Regions from separate parts of the Homo sapiens genome. Here regions 1, 3 and 4 are each linked to region 2. Evidence: promoter capture Hi-C in 16 types of primary human blood cells and fetal thymus (Javierre and others, 2016). All regions are on one chromosome and are shown on one strand. Each heading gives the region's core, a stretch centred on a gene start or on the middle of the fragment in contact. The rest is flanking DNA. Distances are from core to core; before and after follow the strand shown. Region 1 holds the start of ATP7A (ATPase copper transporting alpha). Region 2 holds the start of P2RY10 (P2Y receptor family member 10). Region 3 overlaps BRWD3 (bromodomain and WD repeat domain containing 3). Region 4 holds the start of ATRX (ATRX chromatin remodeler).

Region 1 (3,095 bases), core at 300-2,799, 1.0 Mb after region 2:
CTAATATATAACGTTAGTGAGATTTTTTAAATGTTTAGGTAATCGTGTATCTTTCTTTCCTACTACATTGAGATCCTCAAGTACAAAAAAAACTCTCTCATGTCATGACCTTAGACACCAGAAAATGTTAAATATAATAAAATGCCAGTTCAAAAATAACCATTGAAAAGGATGTGATAAGCAACCTAGTAATTCAGTCAGTGGGGCTGCTAGAAACCGTTGTCTTCATAGCTGAATTCAACTGACTCAATTCGGACTCAATTGTATGTAAACTGTTTATTTTTCTTTCTTCTTTTTTGGAGACAGTTTCGCTCTTGTAGCCCAGGCTGGAGTGCAGTGGCACGATCTCGGCTCACTGCAACATCCGCCTCCCAGGTTCAAGCGATCCTCTTGCCTCAGTCTCCCGACTAGCTGGGATTACAGGCGCCCGCCACCACGCCCAGCTAATTTTTGTATTTTTAGTAAAGACAGGGTTTCGCCATGATGGCCAGGCTGGTCTCGATCTCCTGACCTCAGGTGATCCACCCTCCTCGGCCTCCCAAAGTGTTGGTATTACAGGTGTGTCAGACACTGCGCCCAGCCTACTGTAAGTAAACTCTTTTGAGGCCAGGAACTCTGTCTTATTTCTTGTGCATCACCCCCTCCCCACCACCCCCCCGCACCCGGCAAAAAAAAAAAAAAATTAATAACCTCAGTATCATCTAATTCAATGTTCTGCACATATTCTCAATACAAAGCCATACTATTGTAGATAAAGAGTCTGTGATTAAAATAAAGATCAGATCCTGGACAAACGCTGAATTGTGAAACGATAAGTGTTTGTGCTTAAGATAATCTCAACGTCTACAACGAAGAAAAGTGTCAAAGATAAGATGCCACAGGGTCGGACAATGGACAGTAACTTTACTGGAAAGGGGGCACAATGAACAAAACTAAGTGGAAACAAGAGTTCTCTCAGTTTACCTTACGCTCCCAGAGCAAGACAAGAAGCCAAATATCTATTTTTCAATTATTATTTCATCAATTATGGTCATTTTAGTAACCTTAGCTTCCAAAGTATAAAGAGGTGTCACTAAGCAAAGACCCCAGTCCATGTGACTTTCAATGCCAAACACAAACTTTCTTGTACCCTCAATTAATTGGGTAACGTAGGCCATGGATGATCAGGACATTCTCTCCAAGAGGGTACAAGAAAGTGACACAGGTCAGGATTTAATTTCCCCTCCTCTATCCCCTGTTAGGGGAGGTAAAACATAAATGTAGTTAATACCTGAATTGTGAATAAGTGAAACTTTCGAGACTGCCCCAGACTAACATGACCTTCTCACCACACTCGTAGTACAAACTGACAGCACAGAAGACCCCCTCCAGGAGAAAGGACGACGGGAAGCCAATGTAGGACTTACCTGGTTTCTCTATCCTATGGTTAAACCTCTGGAGCTACGCAGACCGTGGCAGCGATAAATCCACGTACGCAGGCTCCAACAAAGCTCACACAATCGGAGAAGTCACAGTAGCTGCGGCTGCGGCGGCGGCAGCAACAACTCCTCCCTCTGCTTCTCTTTTCCCACCCCCCGCCGCGGCGGCCAGCCGCCTTTACCCCTCCCTCCCTCGACTACCCCCACTTCCGGGTGATGCCCCTGCCGGAAGCAGGGCCGCCACGGGAAAGAGAGCGACTGGTCACGTGAAAAGGAACGCGTGGTCTAGAGCCAGCTTCTCCTGCCCCCTGCTGCCCCCGGGCCGACACGCAGCCTCGAGTGGGTCTTTGTTAGGGTACGAGTCCACTATCCCACCCCGCCCCCACGACAAAAGCGAAACCAGAAAACCCATACTAAAACAGTGCCTTTGTCATCTTTAGTTTCCTAACCTCAGGCCAAGATGTAACATAAAAGATCCTTATAAGTCATCTTCCACATAGTTCATCTTTGCCTAGCATGAAATTCACGTGCATCTGTTAGACTGTGTTAACTGCCAAGATGTAACATAAAAGCTCCTTATAAGTCATCTTCCACATAGTTCATCTTCGCCCAGCATGAAATTCACGTGCATCAGTTAGACTGTGTTAACTGCCAAGATGTAACATAAAAGCTCCTTATAAGTCATCTTCCACATAGTTCATCTTCGCCCAGCATGAAATTCACGTGCATCTGTTAGACTGTGTTAACTTGCTTCCCGTAGACTGTGTAGCCTAATTCCAGATGTAAGTGCCAGAACTATGAATTTATCCTCTTCCCTCCATTGAAAAATTACATCAAGAGGAAAATGTTTATAAATTCATAATTTTTATATGTGTGTTGAGGGGGTAGGGACGTCACTTCACCACCTTCATAGCGCCATTCCAAGCTCTGAACCACTCCCCCATTTATTCATTCACTCGTCCATCATTTTACACACCTAGAAGATTCCGGTGATGCAAAAGTGTTACAGTCTCTGTTACCATGAGTTCATTTAGAAATGAGATGCATAAAATGTAAACAATGCAATAAATGGTACAGAAAACATTTGAAAAAAGGGTCATTTTATTCTTGCTTTCCAACTTAACATTTTGAAAAGCAGCAAAATTCTAGGATTTTTAAAACTATGAACATTAACAGTAAAAAGAGGGAGAGGCTCCATCTCACTTATTTCAAAGCAAGATGTGGCCTTTTCATATTTCCTTTCATGAAGTATCTGTCATAAGATGTAGAACAAAACTAATCACAGGACTATTTGTATTTTCATCTGGAACCATTTGAACCCAGTTCCCACAGAAGAGTATGAAGCCTAATAATGTTGCAGAAATCAAAATAGTACACAAAATACAAATATCAAGTAAATATTTGTAAAAGACTTAGAACAGCGTCCGGCACAAAGTAAGCATATTTAAGTGTTGAAATAATTTCCATCCTAGCTGTTGTCAAGTCCCTATTAAGCCTTGACAGGCAACATTTAAAATTACCCATAGATCTACATTTTAGGTCTGTGATTAAGTATTTCAGAATTATTATCCCCCTCCACACTCATCCACATAAATATAAAATTAGCCTCAGGACTCATCTTCCCAGGCATTATTTTGTAGTTGTCAATGTGTGCAGCCTTAATTATTAAGATACAAA
Region 2 (3,206 bases), core at 340-2,839:
GGCCTCCCAAAATGCTGGAATTACAGCGTGAGCCACCAAGCCCAGCAGGCTGGCCTGTCTTTTAAAACCCCAACTCACTTATTTCAAACCAAAACAACCCATAAATGTGTTTATTCATTTGATGTCTTCAGATTTGAGTAGTCTGTACAACTTGAACTCTACAACTTTCCCAGTTGAGCCCCAAAATAAACTGCATTTGGCCAAAGAATCTGTGTTCAACAGGAACCATTGCAAAAACAATTGCCCCAAATGTGTGATCTGATTCTGACTGTAGTTTACACCATTTTCCACCTCAGTATATCTGCATATCACCTACTTTCATAAGTGGTTAATTTTACTGTGCTGCAATTGCTAAGAGATAGATTCTCCAATTAATATACATCATAATGACTCCACACATCCATTTGAACAACTGAAATAAAAATATTCTCACTTGCAGGATTCTTGGAACTGAGCCTACTCCCCTGGAAAGCACAGCCAAATCTGGTATCATTCTATCCAGCCTTATCCTGGTTCCAAATGATTTGGCACAGTCTCCCTTCAGGGACTCCTTAGCTGAAAGTCTCCTTTTGATTTAGTCATCTTAGCTCAGAAGGAGAGAGGTGCTAGTATTCAGAGTAATAGCAATAATAACTGAAAAAATGAGTGCCTCACTCATGGGCTTTGCTATCCAGTAAGGCTGAACTTCGGTCAAAATTAGCTTTCAAAGGATCAAGGAACCACTCTGACCAGACTCTGAAGTCATCTGGGATACTTTCTCCTTTCCTATCCTAAAAAATGGCAGGGTCACAAATAAATTTACAGTATTCTCTGGGAGATGCAAACTGCTGTAGGAAAAGGCAAACATGAGTTTAAAGACACAGGTCCTAGATCCACCTATACCACTAACAAGCTGAGTGAACCTAAGTGTCTTCACTTCACTGGCTCTCAGTTTTCCTGACTGTATTGTGAGGGATTTGGATCTCTATGGGCCCTTTCAGCCCCCAGAATCTATTACCCTGCTTTCTACTATTTGTCTCAGTATCTCTGAAAGCTAAATTTTCCAAAGCAAGGATTTTATACCCAAAAATCTTCCTTCACGATGCAGCTAGATAAATTATACACCATAAAAAATTAAATTGACTTTTATTGGCCGAATATGTCAAGTTGTCCCAATGAGTCTCACTGAATATACTCTTCTTACCACTTTGTGCCATCTTCTCTGGTCCCACTCTCTAAAGAGCCCTCATCAAAGAGTGAGCTGCATCACAGACTCCATGCTCCTGGCATAATGAAGAGGACTGATGGCATTAACGTTAACTTTGGACTCTGGTCAAACTCAACAGTAATTATCTTTGCTCCTGTTGTAAGATGTCTGAGATGAGAAACCAGTGACAATTTTAATACAGACACTGGCCCCACATCCACCTCTGTTCTGATTTTTATGATCACACCAATCTTCCCACATGAAACCACCAATCCCCAGGTGCTAGGCATTAACTTACCCTGGAGCTTAGCTGGGATAAGCACTCTTGTTTCTTTGCAGGGAGTAAAGGGTAGAAAGCTTTACTCTGGCGGCATGGATCCTGCTGATAACTGACACATTTGTTGTTGAAAGAGGAAGTTGAGTTTATCTGGTGTCTCACCACAGAAACCTTATTTGCACAAATGAAAGGTAAGTCCCTTGAGCAAATGACGTTACTCAAATTTTATTTCTTTTTATTTCATTGGTGCAGAGAAATTCAAATAGCAGGGAGTCAGAGGCTATGCATACTCACACAATGGCTATATAACAGCCTTCCTCACCCTATCTCCTTCCTTGACAACCGACATATCTAGATTTTCACTGATTCCAGTAGGTTCCATGGTAAGATGAAATTTTCAGGAAAATCTAAAGAGTGTTTACCTAGTAACAAGAAAGCTACAGCTTGTGCAAGCCTGAGGGGCAAAGGCTGAGGAAACCTAAAAAATACAAGTCAAAATTAGAAACAGTAGAAGTACCTTTGCTTAAGTTGTTCCCTCCATCTGGAGTGCCCCTCTCCCAACCCCTTCATCTTGAGGCTCACAATTTAACACATAGTTTCATTATTTTTGTATATTTATTATCCCTTTACTAGACTGCACACTGCTTGAGGGTAAAGATCATGTCTGATTCATATCTGTATTCCCAATTTGTCCAGCACAAGGCATTTTCATGAATTGTTATTGAATGAATACATATGGGAATTAATAAATAAACAAATGCTCAAAGAATGCATGAATAAGTAAATGAACATTATTGATTACGGGGTCTCCCTCCAGTGTACTAAAATTCTGGTTTTTATGTACAGTGTATATGGGGCCTTCAAAACTATGTGAATACAGGAAGATCATACACTTGAGGACTACAGTGTCAACTAAGTCTGAGAGTAGTTTTGAGAAACGAGGTTTAAAATGCAGCACAAACCCCTGTTGGCGTGTAAGGGAAAGAGAAGCTGACAGTATTGGAAACTAAGAGCTTGGGATGATTGATGGAAATGTCATAACTTGTGAAGACTGGCATCATCCTGGCTGATGTATGTCAAATGAAACAAGTTTAGCCTTTCAATCCCCTTCTTAATTTTGATTTCAAATGTTTATTCAGCTCCTATCTTTTGTTAATTTAGGTTTCTGAATTGGCATCCCTACTGAAAAGAGAATACACTGACAGACCAACACACATCTCAGTCCATTTGGCAGTTGTGTTCCTCCCTATGGTTAGTGTGAGCCAGTTTTCCTAGGGTAAGATTCTTCTCTGAACAAACAAAAAAATTCCAGACCTGTTGAGCTTTGAAGGCAAACCCTGGGATCCAGAAATACAAGAAATCCTTTTCTTACAACTGGCTATGATCACCACATCCCAACTTTATTTCACAGACAAAACCTTCACATTGCGAGAAGGAAACCTACCAGTTTACTTCATTTCTGTCTTGCACGCAAGCAGCTTCTTCTGTCACTGACCCTAAAAAGGGAAGAAAAATAAAACCAGAAGTCAGTGTCCCAATTCAAATGAAAAATTTTAACTCAGGTAAATTTTGAGTGTTAATTATTGATATGGTTTGGCTCTGTATCCCTTCCCAAATCTCATCTTGAATTGTACTCCCATAATTCCCACGTGTTGTGGGAGGGACTTGAAGGCAGTTCATTAGAATCATGGGGGCAGTTTCCTCCAGTTTCCTCCATACTATTCTCCTGGTAGTTAATAAGTC
Region 3 (3,013 bases), core at 211-2,710, 1.9 Mb before region 2:
AATATGTTACAAACATTGGGGAAGGCCCATTGTAGGCGGAAAAGGGAGAGAAACCAAGGGGTTATCTTGGGGCACGTACTAAGGTCTGACGCTGGCCAATGACAGCGTTGGTAACAGCCCGGAGTTCCGGATTAGTGGAAGAAAACTGGTTTCTGGTTGGTCCTGGCCTGAAATACGGGAACTAAGGCCAGGCTTGGTCTTTTTTGGGGGGGGCGGGGGGGCAGGGGGGAGGCGTGGGAGGAAGGGGCTCTGGAGGGGAATTGACGGACCAGGGATTAGGAAAAACGACATAATTAAAAATAATAAGGAGCGTCAAGCCAATTTCAAATTTTGCCGGTTAGGTAATGGTCTACTGAGTAAAAGCATAATCGTTACGTATCTCCGATTTTATAAGCTCATTCAATTATCAGTTAAGTCGCATTTGCATAGACCCGTTTTCACTAAATAGAAACTGAGTTATCACTTTTTGAGAATTGGTGAAACACGATTTTGGGTTTACAAGGAGACAACAATGGACATATTTAAAAATGGAATATACTTTAGTGAAGGACCAAAGGCATTGGTCTATGTTGTTTCTCCTGCAAATATAATTCATAGTATAAATGTACCTTGTGTTCAGCATTGACACACAAAAACAGGTGATCCTTTTTATTTTGCGGGGGAGGTTCCCTTGTGTTAGCTGCTGCCACAGTGCATTGGAGGGTAGTGAAAGGAGAAAGGAATGATGTTACTAAAATCTAAATTCAGCTATCTTTCCTTCAAGTAAGATCCAAGTGGAGGAAAATCGGACAAAGTTAAAGAAAGTTGGCGGTGTATGATAGACTCTAAATATAAATGATTTAAAATTTGCTTGCAATAAGACTATATTTAAATTGCTTCAATGTTCATTTTGTTATTTTTGTTTGTGTTATCTTACAACAGTGAGGCCACATTATTATTATCAAGTCTACCGACTGTATAGTTTTCTTATATTTTGCAAATCACAGAAAATGGTATAATTGTGATAAGGGTAAACTCGACCATCTGTATTATTAATAGTAACAATTTCTCAGATGGAGAAAAATTAGTTTTGAAAAACTTCATGTACTGCCAGGTTAATTTGTAGTCAGTCTTTCTGTTGGACTTAAGTCTTTCCCTCCCCCTAAAAGAGGCAAAAACAACAGTGCCTACTAATATGTTTTAACACTTAATGACTGATACAGGTTTTTATATATAGTTTTAATACTGAGGTGTATTGAAAATGTTTTCCTTTACATTTGTCCTTCTCACAGCCTATATGTGTTATTTTAAGCAAGTGGCAAAGGAGATTAAAAGGAAAAAGCTTTTTTGAAACTAACTTGACAGTGATAAAAAGGAAATGAAAATCAAAGTAATTAAAAAATAGTCTCCTCACCAAAAAAACCCCAACAACCCAGTTTACTAGACTTTTCCTCATATTGTAAAGACATTTTTACATAATTGTGATCAGTGTCCATTTTATGCTTCATATTTTTCTTAACATTTAAAAATGTACTTGTGTATTTGAATAGTCATCATTATTTTAATGGTAAGAAAAAATTCAGTTGTATTTAAGGTACGATATGATTTGAACCAAGCTTCCAGTTGAGCATTTGAGCTACTTCCAGATTTTTACTAATAACTTTGCATAGTTAGGTGGTCTTTTTCTGCTTTTTACTTTCTCCCCTATCCCTTCTGCCCCCAGTTATTTTCCTGGACTTTATTCCCTAAAGTGGAGTTACCAGGTCAAAGGGTCTCATGAGTTTTATAGCTCTTGTCATATATTGTTTGCTCTCCAGAAGATTGTACTAATTTATAATGTCATCATCTAGGTATTTAGAGTGAGTTTTTTAATAGCTTTAAATCATTCAGTTTCTTTAATATTTAATAGATGGCAATAGCTCCTGGTTGACTTAAGTAGCTCTTTTTTTTTCATTACTAGTGAGGCTTAACCTTTAAGGAATTAAATAAAATTGTTAATTCTTACATATACTCAATTTTAACGTATCTTTTAAATATTCTTTTCTGTTTTTATATTTTCTATTTTTTTTACGTACACAGAGTTTGTTCTGTTGTTTGAACATTATAGTTTAGATACCATGGTTTTCTTTTACATGTCTGTTCTCTACCTATGGACTTCTTTGTAAGAGAAGATGGGCAGGGTTGAGTGATAATTTGAACAGAAGTGTAGTGGCTGAGAAGTGAATGTGCAGTGTTGGTTTGATTGCTAAGTTTGTCAGTAATATTTTTGATTAAAATTATTTCACATATGACCTGATTTTGAGTGGCTGCATTGTAGAAGAGATGGGATACTTTTTCTTGGGGTAGGTGTTTTTGTTTTTTTCTTTTTTTTGAGAGGGAGTCTCGCTCTATTGCCAGGCTGGAGTGCAGTGGCGGGATCTCGGCTCACTGCAACCTCCGCCTCCCAGGTTCAAGCGATTCTCCTGCTTCAGCCTCCCAAGTAGCTGGGACTACAGGCACGCGCCACCACGCCCAGCTAATTTTTGTATTTTTTAGTAGAGACGGGGTTTCGCCATGTTGGCCAGGATGGTCTCGATTTCTTGACCTCGTGATTCGTAAACCTCAGCCTCCCAAAGTGCTGGGATTACAGGCATGAGCCACCGCGCCCGGCCTGGGGTAGGTATTTTTTAAATTGTTATTGGAATGATAGATTTATAAAGTGTGGTCTTTGATTTAGCTGCATGTTTTGGATTGAAATTTAGGGCAAAGTATTAATAGTATCATCTTGATTTACCTGGAATATTACATTATATAGCAGCATTACAAACTTAAGGTGTATTGGGGTATGAAAAGGAAAGAGTACAAATGTACAATGAAGTGTTAACTAGGATATCAACATAGTAAATAGGGGTTGCATGGCCACGTATACTGCATATATGAGACAAAAATCCTGCCTTTTTGTTCATATGTATACTTTCATTTGAACTGATTGTCATTAATGCTTAATTTATCAGAATAATATTAAGGTAATGATAAATTGAATTTCTTCAACATT
Region 4 (3,106 bases), core at 320-2,819, 1.2 Mb after region 2:
TCCTGTAAATTGTATGTTGAAATGATATTTAATGTGTACAAGACAAAATCAGTATAGCAGGTACAGAGGTCTGGTTTCTATAATTGCCAACTGAACTCAAACATTTGAAAGATATAATTGCAATGTGTACAGGCGTCTGTTGATTAAAAAGTTGCCTGAGGCCAGGCGCGGTGGCTCACCCCTGTAACTCCAGCACTTTGGGAGGTCGAGGTTGGAGGATGGCTTGAGCTTAGATGTTTGAGACCAGCCTGGGCAACAGACAGACCTACCTCATCTATACCAATACATAAATACATAATTAGCTGGGCTTGATGGCACGCGCCTGCAGTCCCAGCTGCTTGAGAGGCTGAGGTGGGAGGATTGCTTGAGCCTAGGAGGTCGAGGCTGCAGTGAACTGCGTCACGCCACTGCACTCCAGCCTGGGTGACAGAGCTAGACCCTGTCTCAGAAAAAAAAAAAAAAAAAGTTGCCTGAGCCTATCAGATTTTCAAAGTGTTTCATTCAAAAAAGGCTCCCCTCTTGCTATCCCAGTAGAAAGCAGCAACCCTGTCACCTAACCCCGACAGGAGCTCTTGCATATTTCAAGAAAAATAAATAGAATGAACTAAAGCATGCATGGCAGAATAAATTTGGAAATAAATTTCGAAGCGATTAGATTTTAGAGGACTTGTTTGTGATTAGCAGAGATTACCAATGTAAAATCAAATTATAGATCATAAAAGCGGGAAAGGCATTTACAGATCATCCAGCCAAGCTTCCTCTGTAATGAGAAGGAAGCAGATCTAAATTGATTGGTTTGTGAGCTAAACATCACATCAAATTGGGGAAATGGCCCGTGTGTGTGTGTGTGTGTGTGTGTGTGTGTGTGTGTGTGTGTGTATTCTAAGAGACACTTTATTCAATATGGAAAGAATTTTATGCAGCGTTCAAGTTGGTCTTATGTCGTCTGCACACATATACATATATATAAGTATATTATACACATATACATTTCCAAGCATGTTGGTGTGCCAAATATTATGTATAAAACATCTAGGAAAGCAAATAACTTGATGATAGCCTAGCATATAGGAAAGAAAATACTTACATAGGATGGCCATACAGATTAGTGGTTAAGAGTGTCTGGTGAATCTCGGCTCCACTACTGTGGGACTTTGTGTCTTGGTTTCCTCATCTGGAAAATGTAGGTTTGTCTACCTCAGAGAGTGTAAAGATTAAATGAGATAACCCGGATAAAGGATTAGTGTAGTGCCGAGCATATAGTAAACTCTCAATAAATGTAGGTTGCTGTTATTACTTCGTTAATATGTCAAAGAAAAAAGAGGTTGGACCAAAAGAGCATTTTCAAAATAAAGTCAAACTATGTCACTAGCACTTTCAGGTCAATTGGGACTAAATTGGACCCCCTGCGAAAAGGTGGAGGGGATCAAATGACGTCGACCGCCTTAGCAACAGGCCCCCAAAGAAGGTGAATTTCCGTAGCCAATAAGACTCTGTGCTTTGGAGGAGGTAGCCAATGGCTGACGGAAAGAGAAAGAGGGAGGACGCGCCAATTCTCCTGCCTGAGCCTCGGCCCAACAAAATGGCGGCGGCAGCGGTGTCGCTTTGTTTCCGCGGCTCCTGCGGCGGTGGCAGTGGTAGCGGCCTTTGAGCTGTGGGGAGGTTCCAGCAGCAGCTACAGTGACGACTAAGACTCCAGTGCATTTCTATCGTAACCGGGCGCGGGGGAGCGCAGATCGGCGCCCAGCAATCACAGAAGCCGACAAGGCGTTCAAGCGAAAACATGACCGCTGAGCCCATGAGGTAAAACGCAACCCCGTCTCATGGGCCCCAGCGGTCTGGGCCCAGGCACCGTCTGAGTCGGGTGTTTGGGAAGGCGTTCGCTTGGTGGGTTAGGCCTGTGTGTTGCTTAGCCGAAAGAGGCATCGTTTTCTCTTTAGGTGAGAAGGGTTTCGGGGTATCGGCGCAAGGCTCCGACGGGGGTGGGGGTGGGGATGGGGTGGGGGGAGGTGGGGGGGGCGCGGCCTAGGGTATGGGGCGCTTCTTGCAATCTCCCCTAAACGGTGACGCTTGGTCGGGCTCCTCTGTTTATTCTTTGGTGCCTGTGGGATTGAGACCTCGAAGTCGGAGGCGGTCTTTGGTATCCCGGTCATTTTTGCTAATCTTTGGGCCTAGAAACTGCGTGGGGAAGAAGCGGGGGGAGGGTGAGAAGAGGGGGAGGGGTGGGCGGGCGCGAGGATGTGAGATCCCAGGACGACTTAGAGGCGTTTAGGTTGCTGGAGATGGGAAGCACCCGGGCCCTGCGGGATTTTTTTTCTGCAGCCCCAGGAGACAAGCCTTTTTTTGATTGGGTTGTGGTGCAGTTCCAGGTATTTAGGTATCTTTTCTACTCCATATCCTGAAGGATATCCTTGGGTTTATTTCTAGGCGAGGGGGGACTTAACACAGGGTTTTGCTTCCAGAGGACCCTAGTATACTACTTTTTGTGATGTCCAGCCTTAATGGGACCTCAAGTGTTTCCCCACTTTCTGGGCAAATTTCGAGGAGTAATTAGGCCCTATCTTTATTTACTTATTTATTCCATGAAGGATGAAGGGCAGGTTAACGTGGGCTGATGCGAAGTAAGATTTATTGCAAGGGAAAATGCCTGGCAGGCCTCCTCTTAACCAATCAAGCACGTTTATTAGGTTGAAGCTGTTTTTCTGTGTGCTTCTGATTTGCCTCTTGACGGGTCTGAAAATTTGGGTAGTCAATATGAAATGTATACACTTTTACCCAGGTGGCTGGCTGGCGTTTCAGTTTGACATTTGAATTTTCATCCCACAATGTGAATTAAGTAATTTTTTTACTCGGAGATGCATCCTTGGCGTCCAGTGGCAAAATAAAATTACAAGGAGCATGGGTCAGAATTGCATTTCAAGTTGGCGAAATGTGCCTTTGAGTAACTCTTAGATTGGCATATGTTTTTAGAGCAATTTAGCTAGAATGTAGAATTGGGCAATGAGCCTATGATACGTATGTCTGTATTTCTGCATGAACAAGCAGTAGATTATATTTTCTTTACCTTGGGGAAAGATATGCTTCAGTTCTTAGATTGTAGATCTCT

What was found. Contacts are between HindIII fragments. The CHiCAGO score rates a contact against its expected background, and 5 or more counts as called.
Region 1: a contact is called between the fragment with the promoter of ATP7A here and the fragment with the promoter of P2RY10 in region 2, in 10 of 17 cell types (total B cells, total CD4 T cells, naive CD8 T cells and 7 more). The highest score is 33.8, in total B cells.
Region 3: a contact is called between a fragment that was not itself captured here and the fragment with the promoter of P2RY10 in region 2, in 1 of 17 cell types (total B cells). The highest score is 5.0, in total B cells.
Region 4: a contact is called between the fragment with the promoter of ATRX here and the fragment with the promoter of P2RY10 in region 2, in 5 of 17 cell types (total B cells, non-activated CD4 T cells, naive B cells and 2 more). The highest score is 8.3, in total B cells.

The regions. Positions count from the first base shown.
Region 1 is chrX:77,909,147-77,912,241 of GRCh38, reverse strand. ATP7A (ATPase copper transporting alpha) reads right to left here and starts at 1,549. Exons shown (of 23, transcript NM_000052.7): 1 at 1,407-1,549. The HindIII fragment of the contact is 7,135 bases long and covers 1-3,095 here.
Region 2 is chrX:78,943,774-78,946,979 of GRCh38, reverse strand. It overlaps P2RY10 (P2Y receptor family member 10), which reads right to left and starts at 1,589. Exons shown (of 4, transcript NM_014499.4): 1 at 1,485-1,589. The HindIII fragment of the contact is 3,107 bases long and covers 1,546-3,206 here.
Region 3 is chrX:80,805,271-80,808,283 of GRCh38, reverse strand. The region is part of intron 4 of BRWD3 (bromodomain and WD repeat domain containing 3); the gene reads left to right. Among named protein-coding and RNA genes, the nearest start is that of BRWD3, 3.1 kb to the left of the region's middle. The HindIII fragment of the contact is 274 bases long and covers 1,324-1,597 here.
Region 4 is chrX:77,784,679-77,787,784 of GRCh38, reverse strand. It overlaps ATRX (ATRX chromatin remodeler), which reads left to right and starts at 1,569. Exons shown (of 35, transcript NM_000489.6): 1 at 1,569-1,803. The coding sequence starts at 1,784. RefSeq lists enhancers at 1,496-1,685, 1,696-1,805 and a silencer at 1,906-1,955. The HindIII fragment of the contact is 7,766 bases long and covers 757-3,106 here.